3 separate regions of the Homo sapiens genome follow, and all the other regions are linked to region 3. The links are contacts of gene promoters, found by promoter capture Hi-C in human tissues and cell types (Jung and others, 2019). All regions are on one chromosome and are shown on one strand. Each heading gives the region's core, a stretch centred on a gene start or on the middle of the fragment in contact. The rest is flanking DNA. Distances are from core to core; before and after follow the strand shown. Region 1 overlaps CFAP70 (cilia and flagella associated protein 70). Region 2 overlaps CFAP70 (cilia and flagella associated protein 70). Region 3 holds the start of MSS51 (MSS51 mitochondrial translational activator).

What was found. Contacts are between HindIII fragments. The study calls those that stand out against the background at their distance.
Region 1: a contact is called between a fragment that was not itself captured here and the fragment with the promoter of MSS51 in region 3, in 2 of the 25 tissues and cell types used here (liver and mesenchymal stem cells).
Region 2: a fragment that was not itself captured here is called in contact with the fragment with the promoter of MSS51 in region 3 in 3 of the 25 tissues and cell types used here (bladder, mesendoderm cells and thymus).

Annotation. Positions count from the first base shown.
Region 1 is chr10:73,351,747-73,356,462 of GRCh38, forward strand. CFAP70 (cilia and flagella associated protein 70) reads right to left here. Exons shown (of 28, transcript NM_001367801.1): 2 at 2,988-3,089; 3 at 1,810-1,996. The coding sequence starts at 3,050. Among named protein-coding and RNA genes, the nearest start is that of CFAP70, 4.8 kb to the right of the region's middle. The HindIII fragment of the contact is 5,225 bases long and covers 417-4,716 here.
Region 2 is chr10:73,305,402-73,310,342 of GRCh38, forward strand. CFAP70 (cilia and flagella associated protein 70) reads right to left here. Exons shown (of 28, transcript NM_001367801.1): 13 at 4,757-4,848. Among named protein-coding and RNA genes, the nearest start is that of CFAP70, 51 kb to the right of the region's middle. The HindIII fragment of the contact is 3,629 bases long and covers 1,633-4,941 here.
Region 3 is chr10:73,431,129-73,435,693 of GRCh38, forward strand. It overlaps MSS51 (MSS51 mitochondrial translational activator), which reads right to left and starts at 2,433. Exons shown (of 7, transcript NM_001024593.2): 1 at 2,385-2,433. The HindIII fragment of the contact is 24,221 bases long and covers 1-4,565 here.

The DNA of each region.
Region 1 (4,716 bases), core at 1,779-4,278, 79 kb before region 3:
TCAATTTGAGATCTTCCAGTTTTTGGAATGACTTATGGTTTTAAGTTGAAACCTGGACTTTTCCTATTGTTATGAATCTCTGGATCTTACTTACACCTTCTGTTTTCAGCTGGCTTTTTCCAACACCACCCCAAAAGGGGAAGGAAGGAGATGCTGCCTCATTACTGACAAGTTGGGGTGGAAGTCTAGGTTCCCTACTCAGCCTCCTCTGACACCTGATGGAGGCAGCTCCTCATTACTGCTGAGCAGGGGAATTGGAGTCCTGATTCCTTACTTGGTTTCCACTGATACCACAGTGGGTGTGGACTCATTACCCTTGGGTGATGGTGAAAGTTCTGACTCTAAACTAGGCCTCCTCTGACACCACTCCAGTGGGAAGTGAAGGGACACCTTGCTGCTGACAGTTTGGGATAGAAGTCCAAGATCCATGTGGTCTCCACTAACATTATGAGGGGTGGGAAGGGGACTCATTACTAGAGGGGATAAAAGCCCTGGTTCCCTACTTGGTCTTCTCTGACATCACTAGGGTAATGGAGAACCTCATTTTTGAGCTTTGTGAGAGTGGAAGTCTAGGCTCTCCACTCAGCTTGATTGAGGGTGGGGGTTTTTTTCCTACGGTGTTTGGCTGGAGTACGGGAATTACTGTCTAAAACTTTTCTGTCTTATTAGGCTGCCGCTTTCATAGTCTTTTGGCTAAACAGAGCAGACTTTTATCAGGCTTTCTTTCTTTTTTCTTTTTTTTGGTCTGTGCCCATTGGTGTCTCCAGGTTGCCACCTTCTTCAGCAAGAAGTATGGGATATATAAGGCAAAAAGAAAACCCAAAGAACTCACCACTGTGTCATTCCCCAGGTCCCAAGTTTCCTTCTCTCCACCTTTCAGAGTCTCTTATGTTTGTTTTATATATAATGTCCAGGGTTTGTAGTTGTACTCAGTGGGAGGAATAGAGAAAAGTACATCTATTCCATCTTCTCAAAAGTTCTGCTTTTAATCCTTTTTATTTCTAATTAATGCGCTTAAGATTATAAATGTACCTCTAAGTACACCTTTAACTATATCCCACAAATTCTGATATTTGGTGTTTTACTGTTGATCTCTTCCAAATGCTTTGCAATTTTTATTATGACTTTTTTATTTGTCCCATGAATGATTCATAAGTATGTTTTTAAATTTCCAAATAGCTTTTTGGCTTTTTGTTATTGATTTCTAATTTTGTTGATTGTTACATTTTGGCAGAAAAGGTGGTCTGTATGCTGTTGATCCTTTGATCTATGGTAGGACTTGCTTTATCGCTTAGAATGTGGCCAATTGCTATCATAAAAATGCTCCTCCTGTGTTTTAAAAATATATATATTCTTTAATGGTTAGTACAAGCCTATGATTATTCCTAGGGAAGACTTTTTTCTCTACCCAGGATCTAGACAGAGATGCTGATAAGCAGATTTTATTTTCCTGGTCCATACTTTCTGAGAGTCTTAACTTGTGATGGGGAGGTGATCTCAGTCTCTATTCCCCCATCAACAACAGCCAAAGGTTTTCTGTCCTTGTGAGAGCATTAAAACCCAAGCCCCTAGGTTTTGGAGTACTGCCTTCTCCCTGCACACTTCCACTAACACATACACACCAATGGCAGCTGTTCAAGATTTTCACGTTTCAGTTCCTGCCTTGCTTCTGGGAACAAAGGAACTGTCCTTTCTTTCTCATGATTTTAGTTACATGTTTAAAAGAATGTTTTGGTTGTGCTTTTCCCATCCAACATGATAGGGAAGAAGGCAATCGGGACATTGATTTTTAGAACCACAAGGACTTACAGAACACAGGTTTGTGAGCGAGGTCATCTGAAGTGATTCCTCCTTCAGGATTAAACTCAAAACTGCTAGTGAAGTTGTATTTTGCACTTCCTTCTGGAGAAACAGTAATTTTTGCAGAGTCTCCCAGAACCACTTGATTGAATTCTGCTCGAATAAAGGTAACTGGAGTATCTCCTTTAAAACCTTTCTGTTGGCAGAAACACACCACTTTACAATTATATTCAAATAGAGAATTTTCCCACACATCTGGTAACCCATTTTGATTTGGGCTAAATAGCATTTTTCATTTTTTCCTAACGAGCAACATCACAAATACAAAAGGAATAGGTAGAAAAATCATTAAACAAATCTAGTTTTACTTAAATGCAACATTCCATTGAAGTGCTGTTATGTTGGAGTCTTGAAAATAACATTTATTGTGTTTCACCTAATAATAAAAGTATACTGTGGAACATTTTTTTTTCTGTTTGTTTGTTTGTTTTGAGACGGAGTCTCGCTCTGTCACCCAGGCTGGAGTGCAGTGGCGCGATCTCAGCTCACTGCAAGCTACTGAGGAACATTTTTAAAAGTAAGAAAATTAATTACCTACAATCTTACTGTAACATGCAAGCATTATTAATATTTTAGAATATATTTTCTAGTGTTCTGCTGTGAATATATGGATGTACGTGTGTGTACCCATACATGCACACATAGATACATTTTTATATATGCATTTTAAAACAAAGTGGAGCTCATTAATTACATCCTCTTTGGAATGATCTTTTTAAACTTAATATACTGAATATTTTCCCATTTCATCATATTCCTAATTTTTAGTACATCACATTGTTGTTGTTTTTTTAATTAATCAAATAGAATTAATCACAAGGGAAACTCTGGAAGAATTCAGATCCTTCTCAGGAGAAAGGGAAAAAAATTATACGTGAACTGCTGTCTAGGGAAACTAAAACCACTGTTTCTTTCATCCTGTTAAATTTAGTATTCAAATTGCCGGGTATTTGAGACACACAGTAATGTGACTTGGAGATTAAGACTAACAATAAGGAACACTGAGGCGGAATGCCACTGCTACATAAAGCCAGGAGGTTTGGAGGTAGAGAATGAAGCAAAATTCCATTCCTCCTGCAGGTACTCCCAAACTAAGGATTTTTGTAAATTTCCAAAAGTAACTTTACCAAATCATATCCCTCTGTCACGGTGATCTGCACGAGTCTGCCTGCTGATGGCACTTGCTCCATATCACCAACTGGGAAAAGTCCCTCTGTTTTCTTTGGTCTCTGTAAACAGAATGAATCAACCTGTCCCCTCATGTACCACAGCTGCACAAGTACCCATATTCCATCATAACCAATACCAGGGAAAACCTAAGGAAATGCCATAGTCCAGCACTGTTTTATTCCCCATATCCAACCTTTGCTGTTGGACAGGCAGTGCTTTAGGGAGCTGGTCACAAGGATGATTTCACTGGTAGCGCTAAAGATGTTTATACAGGTAACTAACCCATTAAGCACAAAGTATCACAAGACAAAGTAGGAACACCTTGACCTCCCATACCCTACATCAGGGGTCCCCACCCCGAACCATGAACCAGTACCAGCCCGTGGCCTGTCAGGAACTGGGCTGTACAGCAGGAGGTAAGCAGCAGGCGAGCAAGCAAAGCTTCATCTCTATTTACAGCCACTCTGCATCACCTGCATTACCACCTAAGCTCTCTCTCCTGTCAGATCAGTGGCAGCATTATATTCTCACAGGAGTGCGAACCCTATTGTAACTGATGCATGCAAAGGATCTAGGTTGTGCACTCCTTATAAGAATCGAATGCCTGATTTGTCACTGTCTCCCATCACCCCCAGATAGGACTGTCTAGCTGCAGGAAAACAAGCTCAGGGCTCCCACTGATTCTACATTATGGTGAGTTGTATAATATTTCATTATATAGGCTAGGCACGGTGGCTCACGCCTGTAATCCCAACACTTTGGAAGGCGAGGCGGGCGGATCACCAAGTCAGGAGTTCGAGATCAGCCTGTCCAATACGGTGAAACCCCATCTCTACTAAAAAATTCAAAAATTAGCCAGGTGTGATGGCACATGCCTGTAAGTCCCAGCTACTTGGGAGGCTGAGGCAGGAGAATCGCTTGAACACGGCAGGCAGAGGTTGCAGTGAGCTGAGATCACACCACTGAACTCCAGCCTGGGCAAAAGAGTGACTCCGTCTCAAAACAAAAAAATTTCATTATATATTACCGTGTAATACTAATAGAAATAAAGTGCACAGTAAATGTAATGTGGTTGAATCATCCCCGCTGCCCCCAGTCTGTGGAAAAATTGTCTTCCACGAAACTGGTCCCTGGTGCCAAAAAGGTTGGGGACTGCTGCCATACACTGTTCACAGTGTTCTCTGGTAACCGTTTTTTTTAATCTGCAAAGCTCCCTTCAAACATTATTTAACTTCTCAGTTTTACAAAAATATATTTTGAGAGCAGGAAAGAAGCAGCCACACAAAATGGTAGTCCACTGGAAAAGGTCTTAATGTATTTCTTATTTAGTCAGATATACTGTCAATTTTACAATACTAAGGGCACAAACAATTTCGATAATAAATTGGATATTTGTTTTTTGGAAAAGGTCTTTTATCTCTCCTTCCTTCCTTTTTTTTTTTTTCAGGCTCTCATTCTGTCACCCAGGCTGGAGTGCAGTGGTGTGATCACAGCTCACTGCAGCTTCAACCTCCCAGGCTCAAGTGATTGTCCCACCTCAGCCTCCTGAGTAGCTGGGACTACAGGCATGCGCCACCACGCCCAGCTAATTTTTGTATTTTTTGTAGAGACAGGGTTTCACCATGCTGTCTAGGCTGGTCTCGACGGCTAGGCTCAAGCAATCCACTCACCTCAGCCTCCCAAAGT
Region 2 (4,941 bases), core at 2,197-4,696, 120 kb before region 3:
GAAAGCCACATGTATGCCCAGGACAGGATGTATGCTTAAAGTTGACCAGAGAAAACCCTATGCTTTCACCACTGATTGATCTACAGGTTCAGTATAAGCAGGAAGAAAAGGCTGAGGCAGAAATATAAATGGCCTGGTTAAATGTTAAAAGAATGCCTCAGCACAGAGCCATCTGTAAAGATTGGCAGAAAAGATTTTTTGTTTTGTTTTTGTTTGTATTTAGATCCTGGCATTCAAGGAAATCTGTCAAAACACTGGCTGAACACAAGTTACACCTTCAACAATAAAAAGCAGCCAAACGTAGCGAAGGGAAAAGTTTGATTTCCAAAATTCCCACATGATAGTATCCACATGTCCAGTTTTCAACGATGATAAAATACAAATAGTACAAATAAATAAAAGTATGACTCTTTCAAAGAAAAAAATATAGAAATTCTCCCTAAAGAAGCCCAGGCATCAAACTTACTACACAAATACATTAAATCAACTTTACTATACACACTCAAAAAGCTCAAGGAAGCCACGGACAAAACAAAGAGAAAAAAGGAAAGCAATGTATGAACAAAATTAGAGTATCAGTAGAAACAGAAATTATTTTTTAAAAAAACAAGAAGTCTGGAGCTTAAAAGTACAATATTTGGAATAAAAAATTCACTAAAGGGTTCAACAGCAGATTTGATCAGGCAGAAGAAAGAATCGGCAAAACTGAAGATGGAACAATTAAAATAATTCAGTCTGAGGAACAGAAAGAAAAAGAATGAAGAAAAGTGAACAGAATTTAAGACCTATAGGATGCCATCAAGCTGACCAGCATACACATTATGGAAGTTCTGGAAGAAACTTCCCCCTTTCTAGAGAAGAAAGGGGGAAGAAAGAATTTTTAAGAAATAATGGCCCAAAACTTCCCAAATTTGGTGAAAGATATGAATTGACACATCCAAGAAACTTAATAAACTCCAAGCAGGAAAAACTCATATGTCCACACTAAAACACACCATAGTCAAATTGTCAAAACACAAAGACAAAGAAAAAATATCAAAAACAGCAACAGAGGTGTGACTTGTCACATACAAGTGATCCTCAATAAGATTAACAGCTGATTTCTTATCAAAACCATGGAGGCCAGAAGTCACTGAGATGACATATTTAAAGTCTGAAAGAAAAAAAAATTGACAACTAAGAATTCTATATCCAGGTGTCTCATGCCTATAATCCCAGCACTTTGGGAGGCTGAGGAGGGATGACCACTTGAGGCCAAGAGATTGAGACCAGCCTGGGAAACATAGTGGGACTATGTCTCTACAAAAATTACAGAAAAAAAAGGTAAAAGAATTCTATATCTAGTAAATTATCCTTCAAAAGTGAAGAAGACATTAAGACAATCCCAGATAAACAAAATTAAGACAGTTTGATAACAGGACCTACCTCATAAGGAACGCTAAAGGGAGTCCTTCAGGCTGAAATGACAGGACACTAGTCAGTAACTTGAAGTCAGATGAAGGAATAAAGAACACTAGTAAAGGTAAATATGAAAGCCAGTATTATTGCACTTTCAACTTGTAACTCCTCTTTCTCTCCTCTTTTTTTTGATGACAAATGCATAAAATAATAATGATAAGTCTATGTTAGTAGGCACACAATAGATAAATATGTAATCTGTGACAATAACAATGTAACGGGAGGGATGGAGATGTATAGGAGCAGAGTGTATAGTACTGAAATTAAGTTTGTATTCAAACTAAGCTGTTACAGGTTTAAGGTGCTAATTGTTGTCTCCAAGTTAATTACTAAGACAACAACTAAAAAAATACACAGAAAAGGAAAGAAGAGGGAAATCCAAATGGCATACTGCAAAAAATCAGCTAAATATAAAAAGGCAGCAATAAAGGAACTGAAGAACAAAAAAAAATAAGACATGAAGACAACAAACAGATAAATGGCAGAAGTAAATCCTTCTCTATCAGTAATCACATTAAATGTAAATGGATTAAACTTTCCTATTAAAAAGCAGACACTGGCAGATTAGATTAGAAAAACTCACACAGAATCCATCTATCTGCTGTCTACAAGATACTCCCTTTAGATGTAAGGACAGGAGGAAGTCAAAGGTAGGATAAAATCAGATATTCCATACAAATAGTAAAAAAGAGCTGAGATGGCTATATTACTGTCAGACAAAATAAACTTCAAATAAAAAGAGGGTACAAGAGACAAATAAGGACATTAAATATTGATAAAAGGTTAAATACAGCAATAAAATACAACATTTATAAACATATACAACAGAACCCCATACAACATTTATAAACATATACAACAGAACCCCAAAATTTATAAAGCAAAAACTGATAGAATTGAAGGGAGAAACTGATAGTCCTACAATAATAGAGACTTCAATACTCTACTTTCAATAATGGATAAAACAACCAGACAGGAAATTAGTAAAAAAATAAAGGATTTGGGCCGGGCATGGTGGTTCATGCCTGTAATCCTAGCACTTTGGGAGGCTGAGGCGGGCAGATTGCCTGAGCTCAGGAGTTCAAGACCAGCCTGGGCAACACAGTGAAACTCCATCTCTACTAAAATACAAAAAAAAAAAAAAAAAATGCTGGGTGCAGCGATGTGCTCCTATAGTCCCAGCTACTTGGGAGGCTGAGGCAGGAGAATTGCTTGAACCCGGGAGGCAGAGGTTGCGGTGAGCCAAGATCATGCCACTGCACTCCAGCCTGGGTGACAGAGCGAGACTCTATCTAAAAAAGAAAGAAAGAAAGAAAGGATTTGAACAACCCTATAAACCAATTAGACCTAACAGACATATATAGAACATTCCACCCAATAACAACAGATAACACATTCTTCTCAAGTGCACATAGAACATTCTGCAGGGTATACCGTATGTCAGGCCACAAAACAAGGATCAATAAACTTTAAAAGATTGAAATCATGGCTGAGCATGATGGCTCATGCCTGTAATCCCAGCAATTTGGGAGGCCGAAGCGGGCAGATCACCTGAGGTCAGGAGTTCGAGACCAGCCTGAGCAACATGGAGAAACCCCGTCTCTATTAAAAATACAAAATTAGCCAGGTGTGATGGCACATGCCTGTAATCCTAGCTACTCAGGAGGCTGAGGCAGGAGAATCACTTGAACCCAGGAGGCAGAGGTTGCCATGAGCTGAGATCACACCATTGCACTCCAGCTTGGGCAACAAGAGTGAAACTCCGTCTCAAAAAAAAAAAAAAAAAGATTGAAATCATATGAAGCATATTTTCTGATCACAAGGAAATAGAACTAAAACCCAGTAACAGAAGACTTAAAATTAAGAAAATAAGAATATTAAATAACTGAAATAAGAAAATTTAAGCAACACATTCAACCAATGGTTCAAAGAAGAAATCACAAGAGAAATGAAAAAAAAAAAAAAACCTTTAGACAAATGAAAACAAAAACCAAATAAAAAATTATGAAATGCAGTGAAAGCAGTGCTCAGAGGGAAATATATAGTTCTCTACACATACACTAAAGAAGAAGAAAACTCAAAATCAATAACATAACTGTATTCTTTAAGGAACTAGCAAAAGGGGGGCACACTATGCCCAAAGCTAGCAGAAGACATAATAAAAGAAAGAATGAAGATTAGAGTAAAAACAAATTAGAGAATAGAAAAATAATGGAGAAAATCAATAAGCTTTAAAAGTTGGTTTTTCAAAAAGATCAACAAGATTGACAAACTTTTAGCAAGACTGACTGAAAAAAGAGAGAAGACATGAAAGTGGAAACATTACTACCAATTTTAGAGGGATAAAAAGGAGTATTAGAATACTATGAACAATTGTATGCGAACAAGTTGAATAACCCAGATGAATGCACAGTTTCCTAGTAGCACACAAGCAAAGCACTATGGTACAATATAAACAGTTTTTTTAAATTACATATATGTATATGTAACATGCGTGTGTGTGTTTATGTGTGTATGTGTAATATAGGGGGCTTTAAAATAACTCCAGAAGGATAACAACACCAAGGTGTTAAAAGCAGTTATCACTAGGTGAGTAGAGATCTGGATGTTTTTATTTTTTAATTTTTTATAGAGATGGGGTCTCACTATGTTGCCCAAGCTGGTCTCAAACCTCTGGGCTCAAGTGATCCTCTCGCCTTGGCCTTTCAAAGTGCTGGGATTCAAAGTGCTGGAATGAGCTACCACACCTGACCTTGGGTATTTTTATATACTTTCTTGTTCATCCGTATTTCCTAAGAATTTTTTTTTTTTTTTAGAGATAGAGTCTTTCTCTGTCTCTCAGGCCGGAGTGCAGTGGTGCGATCTCGGCTCACTGCAACCTCCGCCTCCCAGGTTCAAGCAATTCTCCTGCCTCAGCCTCCCGAGTAGCTGAGGTTACAGGTGCATGCCGCCATGCCCGGCTAATTTTTTGTATTTTAGTAGAGACGGGGTTTCACCGTGTTGCCCAGGCTGGTCTCAAACTCCTGAGCTCAGGCAATCCCCCCCACCTTGGCCTCCCAAACTGCTAGGATTACAGGCATGAGCCACCGCACCCAGCTTCCTAAAAATTTTTATAGTGAGCATGCAATGCTTTTGTGATAAGGTAACAAAAATAACAACAACAACAAAAACTTCATCTAGAAAAAAACCAGATAACTCCTGCTTAGCCCAAGGGAAATTACAATCGTGGGGACAATCTGACTTCCTCTTATTTATACCCAAATTGTACAAAACTAGTATAAGCACCATAGCTACAAACCTTCTGGCTAGCTCCTCTGGCATTCGCTTTGGAACCAAGGCTTTGTCCAGCTGAATTTCCAACACAATGTATGTCCCTGCTTCTACATATTGCTGTAAAGACATTGTTTTCTTATTATTTCCAGAAAAAAATATATTTATGAAAAATTTAGTAACATAAGATGATGCTCACAATATAATAAGTGA
Region 3 (4,565 bases), core at 1,183-3,682:
AGGGAAAATGGGGAGTAACTGCTTAATGGTTATGGGGTCTTCTTTTGGGGTGATAAAAATGTTTTGGAACAAGACAAAATTGATGGTTGAACAATACCGTGAATACACTAAATGCCATTTAATTGCTCACTTTAAAATTATTAATTTTATGTTATATGATTTTCACTTCGATTAAAAAAGAAAGGAAGGAAGGTATTCATAGAGATTGAGAGGCTAAAAAGTTATTAATCCCCAGATTGTCTTCAGGTACAGAGAAATAACAGAGGATTAAAAACGCTGGCAGTGTGAATGAGGAAACTGTTAAAGTTCAAACCAGGGATCATGTTTTGTTACAAAAATGATCTGACATTTGATCCTTCTAGATCAGATCTGTTAGGAAAAACCTCAGAATCATCATGCAGCTGAGGTGTATGCAGGTGGCAAAAATAAACAAAAAGCTCCCAGAATTATCCAGCTCATATCCATATCTTACAACATGACTCTTAAAAACCTGTCCTCAGGTTAATGGAGGAACAAATTTGTATTTTCCTTTGTACTTTCTATCTCCTCATCCTTATGTTTCCATCCACCCTCTTAATGTCTCCCCTTATCCCATGGGTGAATGGATGGTTTCAGTCCACAGAACAGAAATAGTCAAGCTCATCTGTATACCATATCCTATATATTACCTTCAATGAAGAAATTGGACCTAATGATATTAGATTATCTTAGGGTTTAAGGGTCATGTCCTTTTACCAAAAGAGTAAATGGAATTGCCCTTCACACTTTAGGGCCCAATTTCCAACAACTAACCTCATTCTGTCCTCCACTTTTAATCACCTCACATTCTCATTGCATTTTCAGAATCACTGCCATTCTACAAAAAGCATTTATCTACTCTACCCACCTGCCTCAGGCAAGATAACATTTTCTTTTTCTTTCTTTCTTTGAGACAGAGTCTCACTCTGTCACCCAGGCTGGAGTGCAGTGGTGCGATCTTGGCTCACTGCAACCTCCACCTCCCGGGTTCAAGTGATTCTCCTGCCTCAGCCTCCTGAGTAGCTGGGATTACAGGCTCGCGCCACCATGCCCAGCTAATTTTTGTATTTTTAGTAGAGATGGGGTTTCACCATGTTGGTCAGGCTGGTCTCGAACTCCTGACCTCGTGATCCACCCACCTCGACCTCCCAAAGTGCTGGGATTACAGGCATGAGCCACGGCGCCCGGCCAAGACACCACTTTCTTAAACCTTGAAAGAATGACTTTTTTTTTTTTAAATAGGTATGGAAGGAAAGTGTGATTTGAGACAACTCTAGGGTCTTAAATCCCAGAATTTATAATAGATATCTCCCTGAAGTTAAAACATAAGCCTTTTTGCTGCAATGGAAGCAAGCCACTTAAGGTCAGAAAGGTACTGCTTTACTTTTCCGCATTTCCAAGGTGAGGTCTTCCTCTAAAGGAAGATTAGCTCTTGGCAATCTGGGAGTTGGCTGAACTGGTCAGAAAGCAAAAGGATCACACAGTTTGAGGAAGAGGAGTGGTGGTAAAAATCCCTAATGTCACAGTCTCCTCTGTGTCTAGAGCACAATGTTCATGATACAAATGAGTTAGCTTTCTGGCAGAAAAGAAAGAAGGTGGGTGAGAAGCCAGGTCTTTGATCTGCATCTATATACATCATCAGGTTCATGTTTGAGTTTATATACCCCAGGCCCAGACACAGCTTCCCTGGTTCTAAATCTCCTGTAAAGAGCCCCAGGCTACTCCCTGTTCACAGGTTATAAACTGAGAGAAACAAAGGAAAAAACAGGGGACTCACAGGAGAAGCTGGAAAGAATTGCAGTAAGCTCTTTGAACTTTCCAGAGTCTAGAATGCTCTCCACTTAGAAAGGGAATCCCTTTCATTTTTTTCTAGCCATCCCCAGTGACTTAGGCTCTAATTTAGTCCCAGTATAAGAGAGAGAACACCAACACCAAGAACTGGAGAGGAGACATGATCTTGATTGCCTAGAAAAACTTTTATCCTTCATGTCCAAATTCAAGACAAAATATTAATCTATTCCTAGACCTAGGTTTCCCATCTTCTTCTTTACCACCAAGAGTCCCAAGTTTCACCTAAACTACAGTCATATTTTCACTATCTCCAGATAAGGAGTGCTCATCTAATTTTCTGTAAGTCACCAAAAAATGCAAAACGTCTTTGGAGAGGTAGGGAGAAGGAAGACTGAAACTGGTCATTGGAGATCCTTATAAGGGGGTAGGAAAAGAGAAGGAGAAATACATTAAGGACACTGTAATTATGGCCACATTCAGCTGTTTAATCAGTGATTAACACTGCCTGGGGTGATAAATACTTTACTCAATTATAAACTAAGCAAGCAGACAGGTTGACGGAAAAAAAAACTTACCCTGCTAAGTCCTCAGCTTCCTTCCTTCTCTCTTTCCTCCAAGTGAAATGAGTGCTTGATCTCTTCAGATCTAGGTTGTGGCTTACTTGCAGCTGTCCCTTCATATCACTTTCCTTTGCAAACTGCTGAAATGCTGAGTCTCAGTGATTAAGTGTGCCCTGCCAACCAGACAGACAAGGCTGAATTCTCCCTAATGAGGCAAAGAGGGATCTGTCCCCCTGCCTGAGGGCTTCTCTCTAACCTTTGTTCTCTGCCAAGGGGGCTCAGGACTGTCAACACTCCCAAGTGTTAGCCAAGTAAAGGCCAGGCAGGCTGACAAAAAATGAAACCTGCTGCTTCCTAGACTTCTCTCACTCAAGGCAATATTTCTGTTCTCAGTTTACAGCTTCAGAAGAAAACCCTTTGGATTAGTGCAGAAGTCAATATTTGATTGGAAAGGGTAAGCACCTTTCCAACCAAGTGGGAGGAACCAGAGGACCCTCTGGAGTTCTGTTTGTTGATCTAGACACAGGATGAGTTCCCCCAGGCCTGGTGTCCTTTTTCAGCATAACAAACATTGTTCAAACAAAACTCAACAATGTCCAATCTTGGATTAAGTAGAAGGGAGAAAATAAATGGCCATTTAATGGTACAGAATGAAATCAGTTGTAGGGGAAACATGCAGAATTAACTTGTAAAATTCACTTTCCCTGAAAGAAGGGTAAGATAACTCTCTGAGTGAGAGAGTCATCAGGAGCACTTTACCTGTATTAAGAGAGGAATAAATGCTTCTGGGATATTAAACAAAACCAAAATACTAGTTAATGACTAAAAATACATACTATTTCTAGGAAAAGAAAATAGAAAAGAATCAGCTCAACCATTCTCTTATCCTCCTTGTAATTGCAGCTGATCCAGGAAATTCAATTCCACAGTCCTAGCTTCTTTCTACTTACAGCTAGCCTATCTGAAGTTGTTAGGGCAGTGGTCCTAAAAGACTGCAAGATCTTTCTTACCCTCAAAAAATTTTTTTAAAATTTTTAAATAAAAAAGTTCTGACTTTCTGCTTATATCTGACCCCAGCTCTCACTTACCTGCTTCTTTGAACATCATCAAACTGGGGAACAGAATCACTCGCAATGAGGTCCCGGAATGTGGCAAATCAAATCCACACAGGAACCCCAAACTGTAAAAAGTACAAACTACATGCAGGGAAGGTGGAAGAAAAGTGTTAAGGATTCAACCAAACACTGCATAACATTATGTAGAATAGCTGTGGATAAAGGAAAATCAGTTGCAATAGGCAAAAACCCTAAATAAAATAGGGGTAATTCACTTTGTGCAAAAGTTTCAGGCCAACTTCAAATTTAACAGGCTTCAAAATTTATCTGAGAACCTCAAATGTTTTGAGTTCTGTTAATAATGGCTGAACTGCAGAAGATACAAGACATCAGAGATTGACTTTTCTAATTCAGAAGTTGTCAATGAATATAAAGGAGAATAGTAATATAGAAAAACTTTGATGTTGAATACTTATATTTTACTATCACTATGACTTGCTCTGGTAAACATTTAAAGTTACGAAGTCTGAACTTTTCACAATTTGTATTCATCATGAGTTGCATTTAAAAAATCTTAATAAATGGTATGCTGTGAAATGAATTATGAAGAAAGACTAGAAAGAGGTTCCTATTCAACATGTAGGAAGTGGTCTGTGAGGCACTATGTGATACTTTATCACTCTTCAGGTATTTTGCTTTTCCTGAGTTTGGTTCCTTTCTCTTATTTTCCTCTTAATTTTTACCATCAATCCATAGTTTTTTTGCTAATACTACTTAATGCTCACCCATGATTCCCACAAACACTATATAATGCTAGTTATGTACCTAAGGGCTAGGAAAGTTCCTGGCACCTAATATACTAGTTAAACTCTTACTTACTTTTTAATTTTTCTATTGGGTCTATTTTAGCCAGATAAACTCTTTACTGAATAGCTTTCATAAAACAACATCGACAACAATCTTTAAGGTATGCAACTTTCATAAACAACATAGACAACAATCTTTAAGGTATGCAATGCATAATAACTTTAGAGCCAACTCATGGACTGCTTTGTAAGTTAATATTTTGGCAAGCAGAGAGTTATAATAATTAACAATTTGTGGCCGGGTGCAGTGGCTGACGCCTGAAATCCCAGCACTT